Regions from separate parts of the Homo sapiens genome. Here all the other regions are linked to region 4. Evidence: promoter capture Hi-C in 16 types of primary human blood cells and fetal thymus (Javierre and others, 2016). All regions are on one chromosome and are shown on one strand. The core of a region is centred on a gene start or on the middle of the fragment in contact, and the rest is flanking DNA. Distances in the headings are between cores, read along the strand shown. Region 1 overlaps LOC107986640 (a long non-coding RNA gene). Region 2 has its middle 31 kb from the start of HDDC2. Region 3 overlaps HDDC2 (HD domain containing 2). Region 4 holds the start of TRMT11 (tRNA methyltransferase 11). Region 5 has its middle 36 kb from the start of HDDC2.

Region 1 (2,700 bases), core at 89-2,588, 630 kb before region 4:
ACATAAGTTAGAATTAAGTTCAGCTGTTAGTAATAGCGATCTACTTAGAGTGACTTAAACAGTTTAAATGTCTATTATCTTACTTTTTCTTTTTTTTTTTTTTACAGGAGACAGGGCCTCTTTCTGCCCCCCAGTCTGGAGGGCAGTGGAGCAAACTCTTGGGTTCAAGCCATCCTCCTGCCTCAGCTTCCTGAGTAGCTGGGATTACAGGAATGTGCCATAGTACCTGGCATATTCTCTTTTTTTTTAAAAGTTGAGAGGTATTTTTTACAGGTTTGGTGTGGTAACTGTTTGTGTTAACCCATTTTGTACTGCTGTAACAGAATAGAACAGACTGAGTAATTTATAATGAACAAAAATGTATTGGCTCATGGTTCTGGAGGCTGGGAAGTACAAGGTTGAGGGGCTGGCACCTTGCAAGGGCCTTCTTGCTACATCATCCTAGGGAGGAAGGGCAAAGGGTGGGATGAGAGGGAGGGAGACAGAAAGAAAGGGCAGGAGAGAGGGAGAGAGAGAAGGAAAGTGAGAGAGAGAGAGAGAGAAAGAAAAAAGAGAGAGAGAAAGAAAGAGAAAAAAGAGAGAAGAGAGAGAGAGATTGAGAACAGAGAGCCAAACTTATCCTTTTGGAAACCACTTCTGAAATAACAGCATTAATCTATTCATGAGGGCAGGGCCCCCACAGTCTAATTATCTCTTAAAGTTCCCACCTTTCAATACTGTTACAAAGGAAATTAAAATTTAACATAAGTTTGAGAGGGTACAAACATTCAAACCATAGAACCCTACAAAAATCTCACAGACCTAGACTTATTTCTTGCTGTTCTGCCTTCTGTTCTCAAGGTCACAAGAGGGCTGATAGAGCTGTAACTATTCACTTCACGGTGGAAGAAACAATAAGGAAAGAAGATATGATCCTCCTTTCTAAAGTGCCTTCTGGAGGTACTTTCTATTTTCCTCCCATTACCCTGAGCCTCATCATATGGCCAAACCAGAGAGGCCGGGAAATGTAATTTCACAGCTGAACACAGTTAAGTTTCCATTATAAAGAAAGAGAACGAGAAAGGATATTAGAGGCAAGAAGCTGTTCCTGTCACAGTTAGCATTAAAACTAAAGTTAGAGAAGAAAATTTTCTCTTTCATTTAATGTTCTATAAAGCAACATTTATTGATGAACTCACTGTCCTAGACACTAAGGATTCAAAAACCGAAATGACACAGTTCTTGTCTTCAGAATATCACAGTCTAATGGAGAAAATACGTGTTCATGTCCATAGATGATTACATACTAGATGTACCCCTAGATTTTTATGAGAACAAGTAAGATAAACTCCCCACTCAGACAAGGGTGAGGAAAAGGAAGAAGGCTTTATGGAAGTCACAGAAGAAAAATACGGAAAGAAAGTAGACTTTGGTGACAATGTATTGGGCAGAGGTCAAATAAAGATAGAAAATACGTCCATTGGGTTTAATAACAACAGAGGCCTTTAGTGAGCTTGGGGAACACTGTTTCAGGGGAGTGCAGGAAATCAAATCCAGTGGGGCAAAATGTGACTATTAATGATAAAGTTGAGAGGGAAAATACAGAAAAGTCTTTAAGAAATGTAGTTATAAAGAGGAAAAGAGAAGGAAAATGGCAGCTAACAAGGTCTAGGCTAGGGAATGGTTTTTTTAAGGATAAGAAACATATGAGGATACTTCAATACCACCGAGAATGTACAAAAAGAGGGACAGAGACAGATATACAAATAAAGAGAGGAAAGAGAGCAGGTGAGCTTATCCTCTGAAATGGCAGAAATCAAAGTAAAATCTAATGCCAAGGCAAGTGATATCTAAGACAATGATCATAAAACTGAGACGTATCTGAAGATAATCTCTATGTTTTCTGTGAAGTAGAAGTCCCAGTTCTGACATAGCAGTAGAGTCAGGGAGAAGAGTGATACATGCAAAAGAGTGATATGCTTTACATTAGCCATTACTAGCAATAAGAAAGACAGGGATGGGTGAAGAAAAGAAAGAAGAGTAGGAAGTAGGAAAGGGCATGCATATTATGAAAATCTTTTCTCTCACCTCTGTCCCCAGTCCCCACCACAGAGGCAATTACTGTCACTAATTTATTGTGTATTTTTCCAGAGGTATTCTATTCCAATACAAGCAAATATCTATATTTATCCCTTTTTACATTTTTACATATGGTGCATACCATACACATTTACCTTGTTTTGGATAATTTAAATATACATAGGTATACTGCTACTCTCCCAATCCCTGAGATACCATCATTAACTCCTCCCTATCTACAAACAAGATGATCATGTCAGAGATGTTAACTGTCTTGCTCAAGATTCTTAGCTGACAAATAAGTAGTGAAGCAGGAAAAACAGATTCCACCATTATATCCATATAATAGATCTGTATTACATTTGGAACTGTTCTCTCAACCAGAAATTAAATCTAAGAGAAAAATACACTTGGAAATTTAACCTCAGAGTGAGTGACTTGAATGCTCCAACTATGCTGTCATCATCATGAAATATTCTACTGCTGTGTTCTATTACTGTTTTGAAACTGTGTCAAAGACCAATTGATAGATAGTCCAGTCAGAAGATCTCAGCTGTGTATGGATATCAAGAGGCACTTAGCTCTAGGAAGGTAGCCTTCTTATGCCTCTTACAGAATTTCTCTCTCCAATTTAGTTGGAGA
Region 2 (2,700 bases), core at 111-2,610, 650 kb before region 4:
CTGCAGTCTTGATTTTGTTGATTTCATCCATGAAATGTTGTTTAGTGTGTGTTTCTATGTTTCTTATATTTTTCATAGATTGATAGTTAAATCTAGAGCTTATTCAGATTTGTTTTATTTTTTAAGCAAGATTACTTCATAGGTATGTCCATGTTATTTAATTTCAGTTCTCCCTCTCTCTCTCTCTTTCTGTCTTAATCTCTCTTTCTATCCACCCCACCCTCCCACTATGCTAGCCACCATTAATAATTATTTCCTAGATCCATTACTTTATTAATGTTGGCATAATTTTCATCTGACTCTAGAATTCCTTTATCATTTCTTAGCTGGAATAGTTCTGTAAAGGAAAACATCCCCTTATTTGGTTAACTAATGTATAATTCATATAGGAAGAGCTTGACTTTTAAATGCTTGACTCTTTCTGTTTATTCATCAGTTTTCAAAATAATAACTGATTACTGAACATGCTCTGAAGTTATCCATCAGTGTTTTTTTATACCTCATATACTTACGAATATACATATATTTGATGTATTACAGATATTATTTTTAGTAATGTTTAGAATGTCCCATCTTTGGTCAGCAGGAGCTTATTTAAGATGTATTTTGGTATCTTTTGACATGACTTTGATTCTGGTATGACAAGGTGTTCCAGGCTTGTCATACTTTTTTGTTACAGATTTGGAATTGGCCATTTCTCCAGGGAGAACAGGTTATTTTCAGTGGGGCACGGTATTTAGAGATCTCAGTTAAAGCTCTGAGAAAGCTTATTGACACTGGTTTAACCTTTTTTTTTTTTTTTTTGAATTTGCAAGTGGGCAAAATTAGGAAAAGTGTATTTTTTTCTTGCAGATATGTATTTGTTAATATTTTTGCAAAATACAGAGAGTAGTGTCTAATGAGTTCAACTTAGATTCTCAAGTACAAAATATCTGCTGATATAGCAACTTTAAAAAGTTTCATTTTATTGTGGTAGGAACACTTACCAGATCTATCCTCTTAATAGATTTCTAAGTGTACAATACAGTATTACTAACTATAGACACTATGTTGCACAGCAGATCTCTAGAAGTTGTTCATCTTGCATAACTGAAACTCTATATCCATTGGTTAGCAACTCCCCATTTCTTCCTCCCCTCGGCCTCTGGCAACCACTGTTCTACTCTCTACGTCTGTGAGTTTGATTATTTTAGATGCCTTATATAAGTGAAGTCATGCAATATTTGTCCTTCTGTGACTTACTTCACTTAGCATAGTGTCTTCCAGGTTTTTCCATGTTGTCACATATTTCAGCATTTCCTTCTTTTTTAATGCTGAATAATATTCCGTTGTATGCATCTACCACACTTTCTTTATCCTTTTATCCATCAGTGGACATTTAGGTTATTTCTACATCCTGGCTATTGTAAATAGTGTTGCAGTAAACATGGTAGTGCAGATATCTCCTTAAGATCCGAACTTCATTTCTTTTGAATATATACCCAGAAGTGAGATTGCTGGATCATATGGTAGTTCTATTCTCAAATTATTGAGGAACCTTCATACTGTTTTCCGTGGTGGCTATTTTGCATTCCCACCAATAGTGTACAGGGTTTCAAAGTTCTCCACATCCTCACCAACACTGTTGTCTTGTGTTTTTTGGATAATAGCCATCCTAACAGGTGTGAGGTGATATCTCATCATGGTTTTGGGTTGCATTTCCTTGATGATTAGTGATATTGAGCATTTTTCCACATACATGTTGGCCATTTGTATGCCTTTGGAAAAATGTCTGTTAGCGTCCTTTGCCCATTTGTAAATTGGATTATTTGATTTTTTTTATTTTTACCAATGAGTTGCAGTAGTACCTTATATATTTAGGGTATTAACCTCTTATCAGATATATGATTTGTAAATATTTTCTTTTATTCTATAGATTGCCTTTTCATTCTGTTGATTGTTTCCTTTGCTCTGCCAAAGCTTTTGATTTCGCTGTAGTCCTGCTTATCTATTTTTGCTTTTTGTTGTCTGTCTGTCCTTTTGGTGTCATATCCAAGAAATCATTGCCAAGACCAATGTCAAGAAACTTTTCCTATGTTTTGTTCTAGTAGTTTTATCATTCCTGGTCTTACATTTAAGTTTTAATCCATTTTGAGTTGATTTTTGTGTGTGGTTTAAGATAAGGATCTAATTTTGTTTTTTTTGTTTTTTTGTTTTTTTTGTTTTTTTGTTTTTGAGACGGAGTCTCGCTGTGTCTCCCAGGTTGGAGTGCAGTGGCGCGATCTCGGCTCACTGCAAGCTCCGCCTCCCAGGTTCATGCCATTCTCCTGCCTCAGCCTCCCAAGTAGCTGGGACTACAGGCGCCCGCCAACACGCCCAGCTAATTTTTTGTGTTTTTAGTAGAAACGGGGTTTCACTGTGTTAGCCAAGATGGTCTCGATCTCCTGACCTCGTGATCCGCCCGTCTCGGCCTCCCAAAGTGCTAGGATTACAGGCGTGAGCCACCACGCCCGGCCTAATTTTGTTATTTTACATGTGGATATTCAGTTTTCCCAGCACCATTTGTTGAAGAGATTATCTTTTCCTTGTTATATATTCTTTGTACTTTCGTCAAAGGCTAGTTGACTATATATACATGGTTTTTTTCTGGGCTATTTGGTTCTATTGATCTACATGTTTGTCTTTATACTAGTACCATACTGATTTAATTACTGTAGCTTT
Region 3 (2,700 bases), core at 47-2,546, 700 kb before region 4:
CAATAATAGACAAACAGAAAGCCAAATCATGAGCAAACTCTCATTTACAATTGCTAGAAAGAGAATAAAATACCTAGGAATATAACTTACAAGGAATGTGAAGGACCTCTTCAAGGAGAACTACAAACCACTGCTCAAGGAAATAAGAGGACACAAACAAATGGAAAAACATTCCATGCTCATAGATAGGAAGAATCAATATCGTGAAAATGGCCATACTGCCCAAAGTAATTTATATATTCAATGCTATTCCTATTAAGCTACCACTGACTTTCTCCACAGAATTAGAAAAAAACTACTTTAAATTTCATATGGAACCAAAAAAGAGCCCACATAGCCAACACAATCCTAACCAAAAAGAACAAAACTGAAGGCATCACACTACCTGACTTCAAACTATACTACAATTCTATAGTAACCAAAACAGCATGGTACTGGTACCAAAACAGATATATAGACCAATGGAAGAGAACAGAGGCCTCAGAAATAACAACACACACACTTACAACCATCTGATCTTTGACAAACCTGACAAAAAACAAGAAATGGGGAAAGGATTCCCTATTTAATAAATGGGAAAACTGGCTAGTCATATGCAGAAAACTGAAACTGGACCCTTTCCTTACACCTTATACAAAAATTAACTCAAGATGGATTAAAGATTTAAACGTAAGACCTAAAACCATAAAAACCCTAGAAGAAAACCTAGGCAATACCATTCAGGACATAAGCATAGGCAAAGACTTCATGACTAAAATACCAAAAGCAATTGCAACAAAAGCCAAAATTGACAAATGGGATCTAATTAAACTAAAGAGCTTCTGCACAGCAAAAGAAACTATCATCAGAGTGAACAGGCAACCTACAGAATGGGAGAAAATTTCTGCAATCTATCCATCTGACAAAGGGCTAATATCCAGAATCTACCAGGAACTTTACCAAATTTACAAGAAAAAAACAAATAACCCCATCAAAAAGTGGGCAAAGGATATGAACAGACACTTTTCAAAAGAAGACATTTATGTGACCAACAAACATATGAAAAAAAGCTCATTATCACTGGTCATTAGAGAAATGCAAATGAAAACCACAATGAGATACCATCTCACGCCAGTTAGAATGGCAATCATTAAAAAGTCAGGAAACAACAGATGCTGGAGAGGATGTGGAGAAATAGGAATGCTTCTACACTGTTGGTGGGAGTGCAAATTAGTTCAACCACTGTGGAAGACAATGTGACGATTCCTCAAGGATCTAGAACTAGAAATACCATTTGACCCAGCAATCCCATTACCGGGTATACACCCAAAGGATTATAAATCATTCTGCTATAAAGACACATGCACACGTATGTTTAATGGGGCACTATTCACTATAGCAAAGACTTGGAACCAACCCAAATGCCCATCAATGTTAGACTGGAAAAAGAAAATGTGGTACATATACACCATGGAATACTATGAACGCATAAAAAAGAATGAGTTCATATACTTTGCAGGGACATGGATGAAGCTGGAAACCATCATTCTCAGCAAACTAACACAGGAACAGAAAACCAACCACCATATGTTCTCACTCATAAGTGGGAGTGGAACAATGAGAACATACGGGCACAGGGAGGGGAACATCACACACTGGGGCCTGTCGGGGGGTGGGGGGCAAGGGGAGGGATAGCATTAGGAGAAATACCTAATGTAGATGACAGGTTGATGGGTGCAGCAAACCACCATGCCACATGTATACCTAGGTAACAAACCTGCACGTTCTGCACATGTATCCCAGAACTTAAAGTATAAAAAAAAAGAAAAGAAAATGATATAAGACATAGAAGAACAATATAAGAACAGTGAAATGTAAGATAAAAGGTTGTTTTAGAAACTAAGCAATAAGGAACGCAAGGGTACACAAGGAACACAAGGGTAATTAAATATGATAAATAATGCCTTAAGAGAAATAGAAATGGAAAGTTTAAAAGTTGAGCAGAAATGAAGATGATATAAAGAGTTTGAGATAAGGTGACAAATAGTGAAGACAGGCAAAGAAGAACCAACATACAGATACAGAAGAGTCCCAGAAAAAAGAATAGCAAAGCAAAAGGAAAACTATACCTCAAGAAAACCTTAAAATTAAATTAAAAAAAAAATTCAGAGTATATATTGAAAATTCATGCTAAATACCTAAGGATATTAACCCAGAATAAGCAACATGAAGATACATTCTAATAAAATTACCAGACTTAAAAGAAAAAAAATCCTTTGGACACCCACGTAAAAAGAGTATCTGGCATTTAAGGAAAATAAAATTATGATCAGACTTCAACAGCTTCTCCACATTGTCAGAAGTTCAGTCAACTGGAGATACAGTTGGCTTAACAAGTACCCTTTTAAAAATGTCTCTCCCCATCTGTCCCTCAAAGTACAGTTGGGGCTTGATGTAGAGCAATATAAGGATCCCGGGACCTTAAATCTTAAATCTGTTCCATTTTGATATAAATAATCTGATTTAAGATATTCAAGAAAAGAAACTGGGAACAAGGATTTTACATGCAGTGAAACTGACTTTCAAGTATAAAGAACACAGAGAAACTATTAATAACATGCAAGAAGAAGGAATACTGTTCTGTGAGGCATTCATGAGGAACCTACTAGGCAACAAGTCTCAGAAAAACAAAACTGTTGAGAAACTGACATAAGGACTGGT
Region 4 (2,700 bases), core at 64-2,563:
CTAACAAAAATTCTCATGTGATTTTCTTAAGAAAAATGTCAAGTGCCACTTATTGGCCCCATTCAATATGCCAGATGTTATATTCAACACTTTATGAACATTATTCCACTTAATCCTTGTAACAATCCTTTGCAGGAGGCAGTGTGTTTTTCCATTTTTAAAAGAAAACTCAAGCTCGGAGAGGTTAAGAGCATATACATGGTAAATGGTGGAAGTGAGGTTTGAATCTAATATTGACACCACAGCCTATGTTCTTAATCACTACCACTGCGCATCAACTACGTTTCTGGCACATGCCGCTGGGGATATGCCAGATACATACTCTTTTGCACCTTGTACAATACCACAGAGAAATGCAAAATAAATAATTTTTAATAGGGCAAAGGGCTCGGTACTCTCAAAAGCAGAAATAGCCCAGAGGGAGGGCTTGAGCCCGTAATTCTAGCACTTTGGGAGACTAGGGTAGGAGTATCCCCTGAGACCAGGAGTTCAAGGTTACAGTGAGCTATGATTGCGCCACTGCACTCACCTGGGTGACAGAGCAAGATTGTCTTAAAAAAAAAAAGTCACATATATACATAGAATATGCAATTAAAATATATTTCATAAACTATCTGCTATGAAATCTGTGCCAGTGTGAGCTTTCTCCAAGTTTTAATTTATGGCTGGCTGTGGATTTAGTCCTGAGTCTAACAAATAACACAACCTAATAATTATTGCCTACTTTGAGGAAGATATTCTTTTGGTTTTTGTTAAGAATAGAGTGAACCATAAAAGATTATATCAGACCTCAAGAGTTTATTATAATTGGGTTATAAGGCATGTGCTCTCGAAAAGTTGTTACATAAATACGAAAAATATACTGTTAAATGACTGGCCCAACTAAATCAGTTCCCAAAGCTGTGCTGGTTAGACAAACCTACAAGGAAATGGTGAAATTTCCAAGGAAATGGTGAAATTTCAGTCCAATTTTGAAGAACAGGTTTTGAAGGGCTGTAGAGAAAGCTGGAAGCACACTCCAAGTGGAACGATAACTTGGAAATATACTGTCTTATTATCACAGGCTGCTCCTGAAAGCCACGCGTCCCCGCTCACCAGCTACCAGCGCTGGGAGACCCCTAACCACCAGGCATTCACAGGTGAGGAAGCCCCTCCCACAGCGGCCGGAGTTTCGGACTCGGAGCGCGAGAAACGTCGGGATAGCGCCTGCCTCGCAGAGCTTCCGCTTCCGGCCCTTCAGGCTCTGTCTCTGTGGAGACTGGGCTTTGGGAGGGAGAAAGAGGGACCTAGCGCGGGCCGCGCAGGCGCACGGTGGGCAGCTGCAATGGCGCTGTCGTGTACCCTTAACAGGTATCTGCTCCTCATGGCGCAGGAGCATCTGGAGTTCCGCCTGCCGGTGAGTCCGTAGCGCCCTCCGGAACTTCCGACGGAAGAGGACGCTGGAGTGGAGTGGAGTGGGTGGAGGTGATCTGCATAGCCCGAGGAAGCTGGGATTCGGGGGTCTTCGCTGGTCTGCGCGGGTCACGCGTCCCCAGTCCTCGGGCGGGGTGAGCTTGGCGGAGGGTGTGTGTGAGAGAAGTCCGAGACCAAACCCCTCGGCCTGCTTAAACTTTTCATTCTTTTGCCCGTGTATCAAGTACCGGAGTTAGGCAGGTGAATATGACCGGTCATCTCACTCCCGGAGCTCTTCGTCTAGCGGAGAATAGAGACAGCTAACAAATGCTCAGGCTGGTGTTTGAAGTATTGGAATCTGCGGATCAAGCTCAGTGGAGGGGATGGTGGTGGGGATTAGATGATGGAGAAGTTGAGAAGAGTGTTTTATTTATTCAAGAAACGTTTTCAGAATGCATGTAGTCGAAGATCGGTACGCTGGGCATGTAACGATGATGTAAGCAATCTCTGCCCTCTAGGAGCTTACTGTTTAGAGTAAGGGCTGAGCAGACACATAGGCGTAGAATGACAAAAGAGCGTCGGTAAGTGCAGTGATAGATGCACATGGAAATATGAGAGCACGTGGAAGGGAAATCTAATCTACCTGAGGGGTTGGGGATGTTGGCCTTTAAGAGGGCTTCCAGAGGAGATGACACTTGAAATAAAGGATGAATAGGAGTTAGAGGGCCAAGGAGATAAATCAGTAAATTAGAATTACAAGGTGTTCATTATTACTGGATCACTAGTTATGTGGCAGAGTGGTAAGAAGAGAGCAAGGGAAGTAGATCGAGGCCAGAAAATGAAAACCTTGAGTACCCTGGAGCTTGGAAGGGGGATTTATTGAAAAGCCTTAAGTAAAAAAGTGACCACAAAATTAAATCAGTTTGACAACACTATGGAGGATGGATTTGAAAAGAATAAGACTTGAGCCAGAGACTAGGAGTCTGTGGGAATAGTCTTGTTAATAGATTAAGAAGGTCTGACCTAGGGCAAGGAGTAAGAGGATGGGATAGACTGGGAAAATATTTAGGCCATACAGTCATTAAGGCTGGATTGATTGAATATGTGGGAAAGGGGCACCAGTCAGGTATGACTCCTGGGGTGTATATAGGTAGGAGTGTCTCCATTTAAAATAGAGAACATAGGCAGATGTAAGATTTAAATTTTGTTTACACTGAATTTGATGTGGTTGTGTAACATCAACCTGAGATGACCAAGAGGCGGTGGATATATGAATATGCATAGAGTATGGCAGAGTGATCTGGACTA
Region 5 (2,700 bases), core at 119-2,618, 720 kb before region 4:
GCCTGTTGGTTGAAGTAGAGGCAGGAAACCAACCCTGCCCAGCTGGTTCTCAGGCCGTGCTGGCTCGCCCACCACAGCACACAAGTACTCAGTCTCTGTGCCCAATCTATAGCTGCCTGTTGAGTGTGAAGTGGCTAACTTGTGAAAACTCCCTGCCACCTTCTTTTTTTACCATATTCAGCACACCGCATTGTATTAGATAAAGTTATGGTACTTTAAACAAATATCTCCGTTCACCAACCAATTTCTGCACACCATAGTCTCAGCCTTATAATCTGAAAACACAATATTAGAATTGGATAGAAAAACAATCAAGAAAACTTGTGGTAATATCTTAAAGCTTCCAACACATTTTAGCTATTTATTTTATTCCATTCATCAAAATTCTGATTTCATTAGTTTGGTAAGAATCTTATGCACATCATCTCTATTCATCTAAAAGCTTTTCATTATTCACTCTGACCTAGAAGTGATATTCATAATGGCCATGGCATAAGTAGCATTTTTTATTTTTGTCATAAAATGTGTGTGAATAACTCAGATTAGATAAATCAAACACTTGTTGGTAGGTGGGCAGTCTTACCTAGTTTAGGCAGTGAGCCTACTCTTAGCTTCAGGAGCATCACTAAGAGCTGCCTGGTCCTCCCTCACCATGGGTGTGCAAGATCATCCTGATGGGACTGATTGCTGAGCTTCTCAATTACATCTAGTGAGGCTCAGTTCACAAGCAGTAGTTTAAAGTGTTTCACAAGTCCTAAAAAGTAATTGCACACAATGGACATAACCTTTTACTAACAAACCAAAATGACTTCAGGTCAACACCATGTGTGTATGAAAGGATACCTCCACAGAAAATGTACAGTTGACCCTTGAACAACAGGAGTTTGAACTGTGAGGGTCCACTTATGTGCAGATTTTCTTCTGCCTCTGGCACCCCTTGAAACAGTGATACCAACCTCTCCCCTTCTGCAGCCTACTCAACATGAAGACAATGAGGATAAAGACCTTTATCATCATCTGCTTCCACTTAATGAATAGTACATATATTATCTCTGTTGTTTTTCTTTTAACATTTTGTTTCCAGAGCTTACTTTATTGTAAGAATACCACATGTAATGCATATAACATAAAAATATGTGTTAATTGGCCATTTATGTTATCAACAAGGCTTATGGTCAACAGTAGCTGTTGGTAGTTAGGTTTAGGGGGTGTCCAAAGTTAGAATCAGATTTTTGTTTTATTTATTTATTTATTTTTTTGAGACTGAGTCTCACCCTGTTGCCCAGGTTGGAGTGCAGTGGTGCAATCTTGGCTCACTGCAACCTCTGCCTCCTGGGTTCAAGCAATTCTCTGCCTCAGCCTCCCGAGTAGCTGGGATTACAGGCACCTACCACCACGCCTGGCTAATTTTTGTATTTTTAGTAGAGACAGGATTTTACCATCTTGGCCAGGCTGGTCTTGAACTCCTGACCTTGTGATCCACCTGCCCTGGCCTCCCAAAGTGTTGGGATTACAGGCGTGAGCCACAACTCCCAACCTAGAATCGGATTTTTGACTGTGCAGGCCTAATCCCCGAGTGGCTCAGGCGTCAATTCTTTCAATTATCAAAAATTCTGATGCAATTGTGATTACAAAACAAACTAGCTTTTAAAAAAAGTAAGCCATTCTGAAATTTAACGATTTACCACATTTTAAACACAGTTGCTATGATGAACATATTTGTAAATTTACAGTGCTACTTTATCTCACAACTCACATCACATAAAGATTACAACTATTGGCTGGGCATGGTGGCTCATGCCTGTAATCCCAGAACTTTGGGAGGCCAAGGTGGGTGGATCAACTGAGGTCAGGAGTTCGAGACCAGCCTGGCCAACACGGTGAAACCCCGTCTTTACTAAAAATGCAAAAATTAGCTGTGCTTGATGGCACATCCCTGTAATCCCAGCTACTTGGGAGGCTGAGGTGGGAGAATCTCTCGAACCAGGGAGGCAGAGGCTGCAGTGAGCCGAGATCTTGCCACTGCCTTCCAGCCTGGGTGACAGAGAGATGAGACCCTGTCTCAAAAAAAGATTACAACTATTGGCAGGTCATTTTAGCAATGCAATCTGCATATCTTACTCTAAATTACACATTTTGTTAGAAATCTGTTCTTGAACCATAGCAAACAGAACAAAGTGCATGCTTTAGGATGTGTCTTCATGATATGCCATGCCGTTCACAGTGGCCAGTGTAGAGGGAACCCAGGGATCTACACGGCTCTTCTGTCACTGTTCATTGTTCCAAAATTACGTGTAAGCTTTAAAGTTGTTCAACATCAACCCCATCGTCCTCCTCTCACTTAGTATTCAATTTGAGTGGAAGTAGTGTGATAAAGGAAGATGGTGGTAAGGTTGAAAAGTGACTTAATATGAAATGTGAAACAACTTCTTCAAACCTAGCATTCAAATGTAATTTCAAACTATAACAATATTTGGCAAAATCTTATGGCTACTTTTGATAACTTCTAAGCATGGTAAAATTCTTTATGCTACATTTCTGCTTGACTTTCAGTTCACACCAGAGGGTATATTCATGTACACACACATTATATATATAATATATATAATACATATCCATCCATTATATATATATATAAATTAAAGCAAACCAAAAATGACAAAATCATGTCTTTCACAGAAATCATCCCATTTCACCTTT

The links. Contacts are between HindIII fragments. The CHiCAGO score rates a contact against its expected background, and 5 or more counts as called.
Region 1: a fragment that was not itself captured here is called in contact with the fragment with the promoter of TRMT11 in region 4 in 1 of 17 cell types (total B cells); the score reaches 6.9 in total B cells.
Region 2: a contact is called between a fragment that was not itself captured here and the fragment with the promoter of TRMT11 in region 4, in 3 of 17 cell types (naive B cells, total B cells and naive CD8 T cells). The highest score is 8.6, in naive B cells.
Region 3: a fragment that was not itself captured here is called in contact with the fragment with the promoter of TRMT11 in region 4 in 2 of 17 cell types (naive CD8 T cells and activated CD4 T cells); the score reaches 6.7 in naive CD8 T cells.
Region 5: a contact is called between a fragment that was not itself captured here and the fragment with the promoter of TRMT11 in region 4, in 2 of 17 cell types (naive B cells and non-activated CD4 T cells). The highest score is 5.7, in naive B cells.

The regions. Positions count from the first base shown.
Region 1 is chr6:125,352,040-125,354,739 of GRCh38, forward strand. LOC107986640 (a long non-coding RNA gene) reads left to right here. Exons shown (of 3, transcript XR_001744328.3): 3 at 108-2,700. Among named protein-coding and RNA genes, the nearest start is that of HDDC2, 51 kb to the left of the region's middle. The HindIII fragment of the contact is 9,886 bases long and covers 1-2,700 here.
Region 2 is chr6:125,331,920-125,334,619 of GRCh38, forward strand. No RefSeq gene overlaps it. Among named protein-coding and RNA genes, the nearest start is that of HDDC2, 31 kb to the left of the region's middle. The HindIII fragment of the contact is 1,193 bases long and covers 765-1,957 here.
Region 3 is chr6:125,283,517-125,286,216 of GRCh38, forward strand. All of the region lies in intron 4 of HDDC2 (HD domain containing 2), which reads right to left. Among named protein-coding and RNA genes, the nearest start is that of HDDC2, 17 kb to the right of the region's middle. The HindIII fragment of the contact is 4,794 bases long and covers 1-2,700 here.
Region 4 is chr6:125,985,227-125,987,926 of GRCh38, forward strand. It overlaps TRMT11 (tRNA methyltransferase 11), which reads left to right and starts at 1,314. Exons shown (of 13, transcript NM_001031712.3): 1 at 1,314-1,396. The coding sequence starts at 1,325. RefSeq lists enhancers at 537-1,367, 1,345-1,834, 1,368-2,197. The HindIII fragment of the contact is 7,229 bases long and covers 1-2,700 here.
Region 5 is chr6:125,264,599-125,267,298 of GRCh38, forward strand. No RefSeq gene overlaps it. Among named protein-coding and RNA genes, the nearest start is that of HDDC2, 36 kb to the right of the region's middle. The HindIII fragment of the contact is 1,857 bases long and covers 441-2,297 here.